Linked DNA regions of Homo sapiens: region 2 is linked to region 1. The links are contacts of gene promoters, found by promoter capture Hi-C in blood cells and fetal thymus (Javierre and others, 2016). All regions are on one chromosome and are shown on one strand. Each heading gives the region's core, a stretch centred on a gene start or on the middle of the fragment in contact. The rest is flanking DNA. Distances are from core to core; before and after follow the strand shown.

Evidence for each region. The method cuts DNA at HindIII sites, captures the fragments that hold promoters and counts their contacts. A CHiCAGO score of 5 or more calls a contact.
Region 2: a contact is called between a fragment that was not itself captured here and the fragment with the promoter of ITGA2B in region 1, in 1 of 17 cell types (megakaryocytes). The highest score is 5.1, in megakaryocytes.

What each region holds. Positions count from the first base shown.
Region 1 is chr17:44,387,087-44,393,177 of GRCh38, forward strand. It overlaps ITGA2B (integrin subunit alpha 2b), which reads right to left and starts at 2,563. Exons shown (of 30, transcript NM_000419.5): 1 at 2,200-2,563. The coding sequence starts at 2,387. RefSeq lists an enhancer at 2,720-2,779. The HindIII fragment of the contact is 14,706 bases long and covers 1-3,010 here.
Region 2 is chr17:45,155,307-45,161,287 of GRCh38, forward strand. HEXIM2-AS1 (HEXIM2 antisense RNA 1) reads right to left here. Exons shown (of 3, transcript NR_186789.1): 2 at 4,024-4,186. It also overlaps a transcript of HEXIM2 not described here. Among named protein-coding and RNA genes, the nearest start is that of HEXIM2-AS1, 3.2 kb to the right of the region's middle. RefSeq lists enhancers at 5,204-5,819, 5,820-5,981. The HindIII fragment of the contact is 332 bases long and covers 3,768-4,099 here.

The sequences.
Region 1 (6,091 bases), core at 1,313-3,812:
GTTTAAGTAGTGCCAATGGGATCACTACTTATAGGAGGGGAAATCAGCAGGAGTGGGCACAGGAAGGAGTTGAGCTGATTCAGGCCCAATGACAGCATTCGCCAACACCCCACGAGCTTTGGAACTAGAATGACCCTTCAAAATTGTCAGAGTTGGCCGGGTGTGGTGGCTCACGCCTGTAATCCCAGTACTTTGGGAGGCCGAGGCAGGCTGATCACCTGAGGTCAGGAGTTTGAGACCAGCCTGGCCAACATAGTGAAACCCTGTCTCTACTAAAAATACAAAAATTAGCCGGGCATGGTGGCATGCACCTGTAATCCCAGCTACTCGGGAGGCTGAGACAGGAGAATCGTTTGAACCCAGGAGGCAGAGGTTGCAGTGAGCCGAGATCACCCCATTGCACTCCAGCCTGGGCAACGAGAGCGAAACTCCATCTCAAAAAAAAAGAAGAAAAAAAGTCTGGGCATGGTGGCTGAAGCCTGTAATCCCAGCACTTTGGGAGGCCAAGGCGGGTGGATCACCTGAAGTTGGGAGTTCGAGACCACCCTGACCAACATGGAGAAACCTCGTCTCTACTAAAAATACAAAATTAGCCGGGTGTGGTGGCACATGCCTGTAATCCCAGCTACGCGGGAGGCTGTGGCAGGAGAATCGCTTGAACCCGGGAGGCAGAAGTTGCGGTGAGCCAGTGATTGTGCCATTGCACTCCAGCCTGGGCAACAAGAGCGAAACCCCATCTCAAAAAAAAAAAAAAAAAAAAAAAAAAAAGAAGAAGAAGAAAAAAAGAATTGTCAGAGTTGATGAAAGAGGGCTGGACCCTTATCAAATGCCTCCCCCACACCTGCCTCCACTCTCCCCACTCACCCACTTCTCATTGATCAGACACTGGATGTGGGCCATCTTGGGAGGGGACTTGGAGTGAACTGGCTCTCTTCAGCAGAGGAAATCCCCTAAGTGGCTGACACTTGAAGGCTATCTGCCATTGCCACCCATTGCCACTCCCTGAAGCTGGTGGGCACAGTGTCTCTCACAATAGTAGCTCAGGGTACACGCTATGAAGAGGAGGAGCCAAGACTCTAATCTTGGCACTCTTGATTCTGAAGCCTGATCAATACTAATCATTAATGACCTATTGCTTCTTTTCAAATATTTATAATGTTGATGGAGATGAGGGAAATGGAACAGAAATGCAAGGTGCGGGAGGGTAGACAACTTTAGTTCTGCAAATCAATTTAGGACATGTGCTCCTCTCCACATTTCCTTTCTTTTTTTTTTTTTTTTTTTTTTGAGACAGAGTTTCGCTCTCGTTGCCCAGGCTGGAGTGCAATGGCATGATCTCGGCTCACCACAACCTCTGCCTCTCAGGTTCAAACGATTCTCCTGCCTCAGCCTCCCGAGTAGCTGGGATTACAAGCATGCGGCACCACGCCCGGCTAATTTTTTTTTTTTTGAGACGGAGTGTCACTCTGTCACCCAGGCTGGAGTGCAGTGGCATGATCTCAGCTCACTGCAACCTCCACCTCCCGGGTTCAAGTGATTCTCCTACCTCAGCCTCCCGAGTAGCTGGGACTACAGGAGTGTGCCACCACGCTCAGCTAATTTTTGTATTTTTAATAGAGACAGGGTTTCACCATATTGGCCAGGCTGGTCTTGAACTCCTGACCTCATGATCTGCCCACCTCTGCCTCCCAAAGTGCTGGGATTGCAGGTGTGAGCCACTGTGCCTGGTCTCTTTTTTTTTTTTTTTTTTGTATTTTTAGTAGAGACGGGGTTTCTCCATGTTGGTCAGGCTGGTCTCGAATTCTCGACCTCAGGTGATCTGCCCGCCTCGGCCTCCCAAAGTGCTGGGATTACAGGCATGAGCCACCGCGCCCGGCCTCCTCTCTGCATTTCAAGGTGTTGAGGGTGGAGTGGTTCATACAACTGACCCTTGGGGAAAAAATAAAGCATCAACTCTTGTCTTCCCTTTGTTCTTGCTGTAGTTTTCAGTGCCCATCAGCCCACATGTGCCCTGCCCTTATACCTTCACCTGAGCCAGTCCCCTGGACCCCAACATTCTTGACAAGAAATCAACCTGAATAGGCCCCACAAGTCACCTTGCTCAACTGCTATCGCAAATGGGAAACTCGAAGCCCCCAGAAGCAGTGATGGGGAGGGGTCCTGCTCTCTCCCAATACCCCAACTTCCCTTACGGCTCACCTCCCATGGCTGTCCTTGTGGAAGTCCAGTGAAAATCCAAACTGGCTGCCATTGGGGCCTGCATAGAAGGTGAGCTGCACTGGGTCCAGGTTCAAGGCCCAGGCTGGAGGGGCAGCACAAGGTCCCAAGAGCAGCAGCACCCACTCCAGAAGCCAGAGGGCTTGCAGTGGACACAAAGCTCTGGCCATCTTCCTTCTTCCACAACCTCCCAGGCAGGAATGGGCCAGCTCCTCCTCCTTCCCTTCAGATTCCTCCACAGGAAGTCTTTTCTTATCAAACTGGAACCCCAAGTAACTTGCTGAGCAACGGGCAGAGCAAAGGGCTATAGCCCCTGGACTCATGGTGGCTAGAATTGCCAGGAAGTGGGTGAGGCCACCCAGAGGGTGGATGCTCATGGCTGAAAGCCATGACTCCTCCCCTTTCCTGAGAATAGTTTATTACCATGTCCTATTGGTTCTGCCTATCAATGATGTCTCTTGAATCTTTACCCCATCTCTACTACCACCGTGCTAGTCCAAGCCACCATCACTTTCTGCTTGGGATAGCGTGATTGTGAACTGGTCCATACTTGTCTACTCTAGCCTACAGTTCTAATCTCCTCCCTTCCCCCATCTGGCTGTACAGCTGTGGTGCTTTGTGACTTGGCCACAGGTCGGGGAAGGAGAAGGAAGCTGCTGCCCCCGATAAAACCTGAGGCTTCTGTATCTTTTTGGATATGGCATTTACCCACTTCCTCCTTCTAGGACCTTGGGCGGCCTCAACCAGCCATATTGGTGCAGCAGCTTCCTCACTCCTCCTCCGTCTTGAGCCAAGCTTTAGTGTGGCCACAGCAGTGCAGTCAGTGCTGGGGACAGGGTGGTGAATGGACCTTGGTCTAGGTGGCAAGGAGATTGGGGATAAAGTGGAGTTATTCCAGGGAATTTTGACTCACAGTTTCTGAGATTATGCATTAGCTGTTCAGTTGAAGGTAGGCCCTCAATCCTTTTTGGGTGATGGAGCTCTTTAACCATTAAGACTTGATTCTGGTTGGGGGCTTTGCCTAGGGGAGCCTTCCCTGACTCCTCAGGCTGGCCGCGTGGGCTAACACACGTAGGCACAGCATTGAGCACACTGTTTACTCTTGGTCCGTTCACAGGATTGTGTAAATGAGTCCCTTGGGAGCAAGGCTCCTTGCTACAGCCCTAGAGACTACCCAAGAGTCCAATGTGTAGTACGTGTATTGCTGAAAGACTGGATGGAAACACACACTAAGGATGGAAGATGCAAACATAGGGTGACAAAGTGAAGGGATGAGTTTTGAGCAGAAAGGCAAAGTCATTTTCTCTCGGTAAGCGGAAGAGGAGGAGTGCCAAGTCTTACTGGCACTCATGCCTTCCCAAAAAAGCAGGTTCTCAGGAAGATTTAAGAGGTCCGCTAGGGGTAACCATAGCCACATTTTCCTTTTGATTTCTATTTTCTGATCAAACTTAACCATTGCCGTATCCTGCTCAACCACCCTGTACCATTTTGAAGTCCCCTCGTAATTTACTACCTCAGCCTAGAGTTAAGAATCTTATCCTTTATAGGACAGGAAGCTAAAAGCCTGAACTTTGGTCTGGGCCTTCTTCATTGCTGAGTTCCCAGTGTCAAGTACATGGGAGGCGTGTAATTAATGTATTTGCTTGAACGAATACTTAACCCAGTCCTCTACTTACCTTCTATCCTCCCACTGTCCTCAGGTGAGTGATTGCTGTATTACTGGTGTATTCTGTGAGGCCAAATATGAACTTACATTTCACTCAAGTTTTCAATAAGTATTTACTCTGTTCAAGGCACTGTGTTGATAAAGGATACAAAGATAACCATTAGGCCAGGTATAGTGGCTCATGCCTGTAATCCCAGCACTTTGGGAGGCTGAGGCAGGAGGATGGCTTGAGCTCAGGCATTTAAGACCAGCCTAGGCAATACAGTGAGACCTCGTCTCTATTTTAAAATTATAAAAAATAAAATATTTTAAAAACTCCAAAGATAGCCATCAAGGAGACTTAACAAACAGCCCAGAAAGAGTTAAGACATGAACACACATAACTGCAGCAGAGAGACAGTCAAGCATGCCTTGAAAAATACACAGATTATCAAAGTCGTATATCATTGTTACTCATAACAACCCTAGGAAATAAGTACTATTATGCCCATTTTATAAACACAAAACTGTGGCACAAGAGTTTTAGGTAAATTGCCCATGTTTACGCAGCCAACAGATGGCAAAACTAAGATTCAAACATGGGTTGCACTTGAACTCATGTTCAAGTTGCCTTTTGTCAGAGAATGAAAGGGTTTTTAGGCATAGAGAATACATGAGAGCAGCAAAGGAACACAGAGGTAGGGAAGGACAAGTAGTTGACTCAGCATAGCAGAATGCTTAAAGGGTTGGACTGAGGCGCAAGGGGGTAAAGCTTGGGGATTCAAATTACTGGAGGTCCTTGAATGCCATATTAAGGAATCTGAACTTTAATCCATGGGGGATGGAAAATCATAAAGATTTTAGCCGGGCATGGTGGCTCATGCCTGTAATCCCAGCACTTTGGGAGGCCCAGGCGAGTGGACCACAAGGTCAGGAGTTTGAGACCAGCCTGGCCAACCTAGTGAAACCCCGTCTCTACTAAAAATACAAAAATTAGCTGGGCGTGGTGGTGTGTGTCTGTAATCCCAGCTACTTGGGAGGCTGAGGCAAAAGAATTGCTTGAACCTGTGAGGCGGAGGTGGCAGTGAGCTAAGATCATGCCACTGCACTCCAGCCTGGGCGACAGAGTGAGACTCCATCAAAAAAGAAAAAAAGAAAGAAAGAAAAGAAAAATAAAATTATAAAGATTTTTTACACCAGGTTTGGTGGCTCATGCCTGTAACCCTAGCACTTTGGGAGGCCAAGATGAGGATTGCTTGAAGCCAGGTGTTTGGGACCAGCCTGGGCAACATAGTGAGACCCTGTCTCTACAAAAAAATTAAAATTAGCCAGGCACGGTAGTGCACACCTGTAGTTCCAGCTACTGAGGAGGCCGAGGCAGGAGAATCACTTGAGCCCACGAGTTTTAGGTTACAGTGCACTACGATTTTGCCACTCCACTCCAGCCTGGGCAAGAGTAAGACTATGCCTAAAAAACAATTTTTTTTTTTTTTTTTTTTTTTTTTGCTGGGCATGGTGGCTCACACCTGTAATCTCCCAACACTTTGGGAGGCCAAGGTGGGCGGATCGCTTGAGGCCAGGAGTTTGAGATCAGCCTGGCCAACATGGCAAAACCCTGTCTCTACTAAAAATACAAAAATTAGCCGGGTGTGGTGGTGCACACCTATAATCTCAGCTGCTTGGGAGGCTGAGGAAGAATTGCTTGAACCTGGGAGACGGAGGTTGCGGTCAGCCGAGATCGTGCCATCACACTCCAGCCTGGGCAACAAGAGCAAAATTCCATCTCAAAAAACCCAAAAAACCAAAAACCAAAAAACACATTTTTGAATTTTTTTTGGCTCAATTCTGATGCACAATCCTCAGTTAATGATATTTTACTTGGCTCATATTCTTTTTATTTTTGAGACAGGATCTTGCTCTGTCACCCAGGCTGTAGTACAGTGACCTGAACATGGCTCACTACAGACTTGACCCCTGGGCTCAAGCAGTCCTCCCACATCAGCTTCATGAATAGCTGGGACCACAGGCTTGTGCCACCATGCCCAGCTAATTTTTAAATTGTTTTGTAGAGATGGGGTCTTGCTATGTTACCCAGGTTGGCCTCGAATTTCTGAGCTCAAGAGATCCTCCTGCCTTGGCCTCCCAAAGTACTGGGATTATAGGCATGAGACACTGTGCCTGGCCACTTTGCTCATATTCTTGAACATATAATCAAAATGTTTACTATGT
Region 2 (5,981 bases), core at 2,684-5,183, 770 kb after region 1:
TGTCTCAAAAAAAAAAAAAAAGTTGAAAAAAAAAAAAAAAGATGGGGTCTCCCTCAGTTGCCCAAGCTAGACTGCAGTGGCGCTATCATATCTCACTGCAGCCTCAAATTCCTGGGCTTGAGTGATCCTCCCACCTCAGGTTCCTGAGTAGCTGGGACTAAAGGTGGATACCAACACACCCCGCTGATTTACCTACATTGAACAGGGGGCTTTGATGATAAATGAACCCCAAGCCCACTCTAGCCTTTCACTTAAGTCCTCTGTCAAGCATTTTAACTGAGCTGCTCAAAAGACCAGGCTTACAAATTAGCAATTTCAGTTTGTTCCCTTTTTCCTACTGGGGCCTAGGTATTCAATCAGGAAAAACTGCTTCTCAAACTGACACAGCTAGCTGGACAGCTTTTCTTAGAGCCCTCAGGAGACAGGGTCCTCTAGACTTCAGAGTTTTAGGAGAGAGAGCCAGGGAGTTCCAGATTGGTTTAGTTCTGAAAAACAGACTAAGTATCTCTAAAGAGGGGAAGCATAATAAAGATTAGACAGGCCAGGCGCAGTGGCTTCATGCCTGTAATCCTAACACTTTGGGAAGCCAAGGCAGGAGGGTCACTTGAGCTCAAGCACTTGACACCAGCCTAGGCAACACAGTTACCAACACAGGCAACATAACCAGCCTCGTCTCTATTAAAAAGTAAATTTAGGCCAGGCATGGTGGCTCACGCCTGTAATCCCAGCACGTTGGGAGGCCAAGGCAGATGGATCACTTGAGGTCAAAAGTTCGAAACCAGCCTGGCCAACATGGCAAAATCTCGTCTCTATTAAAAATACAAAAATTAGCCAGGCATCGTGGCGGGTATCTGTAATCCCAGCTACTCGGGAGGCTGAGGCAGGACAATTGCTTGAACCTGGGAGGCAGAGGTTGTAGTGAGCCGAGATCGCGCCACCGTACTCCAGCCTGGGCAACAGAGCAAGACTTTGCTTGGAGAAATGTAAATAAATATACTCTGCCCTAATGACTGCAAAAGTTAAAGAAACCAAAGAGGGACTCCACAGACTTAAACAACAAAACCCACAACCAAATACTCTACCTACTTAAGGGCTGGCTATATTTAGTCAAGCATTAGGTAATGCATCAGTTCTTCCCTTGATCACTTATACCCATAACAGCTAGCAACAAATATTCACAACAGTGTGGTGGAAAAGTTGGTTATAGTTAAAAAGTACTTGAACGTTAAGTACTTAAGTACACTTGAGTTTGTGGGGTTTCGAGGTTTGTTTTTTTGGGGGAAGTACTATTTCTCACATTTGCACAACATCACTGGAATAACAATTCCACTTTATTATTCTTTCTCAAGCAAAGTGTAAATGGTTGAGGCTAGAAATAAAAAGTTATTTTTTTAAAAAAAGAGAATGTTGCCAGGTACGGTGGCTCACGCCTGTAATCCCAGCACTTTGGGAGGCCGAGGCGGGCGCATCACAAGGTCAAGAGATCGAGACCATCCTGGCCAATATGGTAAAACTCCGTCTCTACTAAAAATACAGAAAAAAAATTAGCTAGGCATGGTGGTGCCCACCCGTAGTCCCAGCTACTTGGGAAGCTGAGGCAGGAGAATTGCTTGAACCCAGGAGGCAGAGGTTGCAGTGAGCCGAGACTGCGCCACTGCACTCCAGTCTGGTGACAGAGTGAGACTCTCAAAAACAAACAAACAAACAAAAAAAGCTACAAAAATTAGCCGGGTGTGGTGGTGGGCGCCTGTAATCCCAGATATTTGGGAGGCTGAGGCAGGGAGAACTGCTTGAAGCCGGGAGGCAGAGGTTGCGGCAAGCCGAGATCGTGCCACTGCACTCCAGCCTGGGCAACAGAGCTAGACTCCATCTCAAAAAGAAAAAAAAAAAAGAATGTCAAATTCAGGCCCTAAACACCATGGGAACTGCTGACCAAAGGATAAAAGTCATACTTTGCAACTGGAGCAAAATATATGGTCCAGGAGGCAAAATTTCAATCTTTGGCCAAATTTTTGCCAAAAAAGATCAAGAACAGGATGTTGGGGCCTAAACACAGGAGGGTAAAAAACTGATTAACTGGCCAGGCACCGTAGCTCACGCCTGCAATCCTAGCACACTGGGAGGCCGAGGTGGGCGGACCACCTGAGGTCAGGAGTTGGAGACCAGCCTGGCCAACATGGTAAAACCCTGTCTCTACTAAAAATACAAATACAGGCCGGGCACAGTGGCTCACTGACTGTAATCCCAGCACTTTGGGAGGCCAAGGTGGGAGGATCACCTGAGGTTGGGAGTTCAAGACCAGCCTGACCAACATGGAGAAACCCCATCTCTACTAAAAATACAAAACTAGCCGTGCATGGTGGCGCATGCCTATAGTCCCAGCTCCTTGGGAGGCTGAGGCAGGAGAATCGCTTGAACCCAGGAGGCAGAGGTTGTGGTGAGCCAAGATCACACCATCGCGCTCCAGCCTTGGCAACCAGGTGAAACTCCGTTCCAGAAAAAAATAAAATGCAAAAATTAGCCAGGCATGGTGGTGAGTGCCTGTAATCCTAGCTACGCGGGAGGCTGAGGCAGGAGAATCGCTTAAACCTGGGAGGTGGAGGTTGCAGTGGGCGAAATCGCGCCACTGCACTCCAGCCTGGGCGACAGAGCAAGATTCCATCTCAAAAGAAAAGGAAAAAAAATTGATTTAACTGTGGAAACCAAACAGAAGCAAGCATCTTCATCCCGAAGAGGGGGAATTACTGTAAAGAATCACTCCTTTTCTGCAATTATACAGGCAGCAGGAAAAAAAAACAAAAAAAAAACCTCCTACCTCTGTCAACGAATCCTACTCACACATAGTCACTGCTCCCTAGGATTTGGCCATCAGGCAAAATGAGTGTCCAGGACTTCACAGCCACAACCAGTGGGCACCCTGAGAGACTGATCCTCATTCAGCCTACTTGGATGGCTCTTTTGTGATGCTATGGACAACTAAGGCCACACTTTGGTAAGGCAGGCTTTCCAACTGCCCCAATGATCTTTGAAGCATTCCTTGTGAAGTTCTCATATAACAAAGTTACAAGGAGTAAGTGTTTACATAGCGACTTAAGACTAGTTACTCCTCTAGGTATTTATGAGGGAGACAGTGCTGATACCATTTTCAAATGAATATAGAGTTTGTAGAATTTGTCATAAAAGCATAATGCAACTCATCTGAGAGGGGAGAGCTGAAAAGGAAGTTGAAAGTCTGGTTGAACAGTAGATGAACAATAGACTAAGCAGCAAAATGACCAGTTTGGCCTCATTATCAGTATTTGGCCTCTGGCCAAGTCAACCAAGTTAAGGGCAGCACACACAGAAACAGAGCTCGGAGTTCCTAATTTTCAGTCCTACAGTCCTGTGTTTTCCTTAGATAACCAGGAGGCCACTAATAAGCTGGTTTTATTCCCATTTTTTCTTTTTTTTTTTTTGAGACAGAATCTTGCTCTGTCACCCAGGCTGGAGTGCAGTGGCACGATCTCGGCTCACTGCAACCTCCAGCCCCGGGGTTCAAGCAATTCTCCTGCCTCAGCTTCCCAAGTAGCTGTGACTACAGGTGCACACCACCACACTCAGCTAATTTTTGTATTTTTAGTAGAGATGGGGTTTCACCATGTCTGCCAGGACGGTCTCAATCTCTTGACCTCGTGATCTGCCCGCCTTGGCCTCCCAAAGTGCTGGGATTACAGGCGTGAGCCACTGTGCCCGGCCTATTCCCAATTTTTCTTAGCAAAGAATGGAAAAGCTTGTGGGTCAACCTTAAGGATAGTAAGTTTCATTTACAAATGAGTAACAAATTTCTGCTGCTGGTACAGTATTTGCCACTCAGTAGCATCCAAAAATTTCACTAGATTACTTCATAATGGAGGATGAATCCCAAGTGTCTAGGATCCTCCATTAAATTCTTGACAGAAGACCCACAAAGATCGTCTTTAAAAGCCTTTTCTGTTCCTATGACTATTTAAGTCCTACCAAGTTAGTTAGCTTTTTTAAACTCACATCTCTTGATCAGTGTAGAGCGAACATGTCATATGTAGGTAAAAAATCAAACCACAGTAGGCATCAAGTGTACTGAAGCTTCAGTTAGGAGTAAGTGGTTCCAGTTTTGGATTGAGGACCCTAGTCAATGATGATCCTATTTTGTAATCCAGTTGTAAAACATCTGGGGAGCAGAGGGAAAAAAGTTAATGCTATGGAGTTGTCACTCCAACTGAAGAAAAATTATTAATAGGAGGAGCAGAACTTCAGTTCTGGAAAACTTTTTTTTTTTTTTGAGACAGAGTCTTACTCTGTCACCCAGGCTGGAGTGCAACGGTGAGAGGCTCATGGCAAACTCTGCCTCCTGGGTTCAAGCGATTCTCCTGCCTCAGCCTCCCGAGTAGCTGGGATTACAGGCACGCAACTCCACACCCGGCTAATTTTGTATTTTTAGTAGAGAAGGGGCTTCACCATGTTGGCCAGGTTGGTCTCAAACTCCTGACCTCAGGTGATCCACCCGCCTCCACCTCCCAAAGGGCTGGGATTACAGGTGTGAGCCACCGCGCCAGGCCAAGTTCTGTTAAACTTTTAGTAAGGCTGAAGGCTTAGGCATGTTTTGACCATTTGTAACTGATAATAAGACTCATCACAAGGTACCCACAAAATTCACTGCCAGTCACTCTGCTACGTCAAAGCCTCTCCTACTTCAGCACCTACCTAGGCATAATTTTAACTGACATTTTAGCAATAAAACTTTTATTTGAAGATATCCTTGAGCCACAAATCTCTCTGGATTTAGATTTCAAGCAGTAGGAAGTAAGATGGTTTAACCTGCAATTCAATAAAAGAACTTCACATCAAACTTCAATCTTTAAGAAGCTGCTACAGCTATAATGTAAGGTTAAGAGTTTATTCTTTCAAAGCAGGTCTCCTCATCTCTTAAACGCTATACATATGAAGTAGATAAAAACTGGTTTCTTTTTTGGTAGCATTTAGGATCTACAAAAGTGATCCTTCAATTACTTGGAATTTCAAAAAATTGAGGTTACCTAGTAACAATGCACCAGTAGAACACAAAATACTCTGACTTTGTTTAGTCTGTGGGAAAAGAAAAATCTTTAAACTGGAAAGATTTTGTAGTCTTACAAAGATTACATTGGAATTGGAATTACTGTAGTTCGTTTTTCCCTCTAGGAGGGCAGCCATTTCTCTAAAAGTTGTGTAAAAGTTAAGACTAGGATTTCAAAATGCAAGCAGATGTTGATGAAGCATACGAAATGGGCAACTCCGTTTCTATTTCGGAGCCGCAGCGACTCCGACTTTGTGCCCCAACCCTGTAAAGGGCAAAACCTCATCCCTTCGGTGTAAACTTTCAAGAGAAGTGGGGCAGCACACTTTAGGCGTTTCACCAAGAGGCTGGCGACATGCTAGGTCAGGTTGTCCGGAGAATCGGGGCTGAATGGGAGAGATCTTGAGGGCAAGAGCCTCAGAGACCTTCAGGCACCGAGCTCGTGAAGGTTTCCAAGTGCCCCTCTCTAGCTGCTCCCAGGGGGAATTAGTGGTTGCTACAGTAGTTTAAGAGGGTCGTGGTTTTTCGCAACCCGGGCGGCGAGATGGCGCTTTGGTGTAAGCGAGGTAAGGTGGGTGCACTGGGATCTCCGCTCTCGGAGCCTCCAGCTGACTGCCACGCCGACTTGTGGCCAGACCTGCGACCTCCGCCCTCCCCCGCGGCGCCAGCCTCTGGAATCTGGCGTCGCCCCCACCTCTCCAGTCGAAGTGGGAGTCCCTCTGTGCGGGGCCTCGCCGCCATACCCAGGCCGAATGGGGGTGGGGAGGGAAGCTGGCAGAGCTCGGCCTCAGGATCCGCGCCCCTGTGGAAAGACCGCAGAGGGAAGCCGTTTCACCAGCCTCTCCCCTTCTGGGGTCTCGGGAAACACGCGGTAATTACCGAAGAACCCCGCACTCTGTGAGAGGCGAGG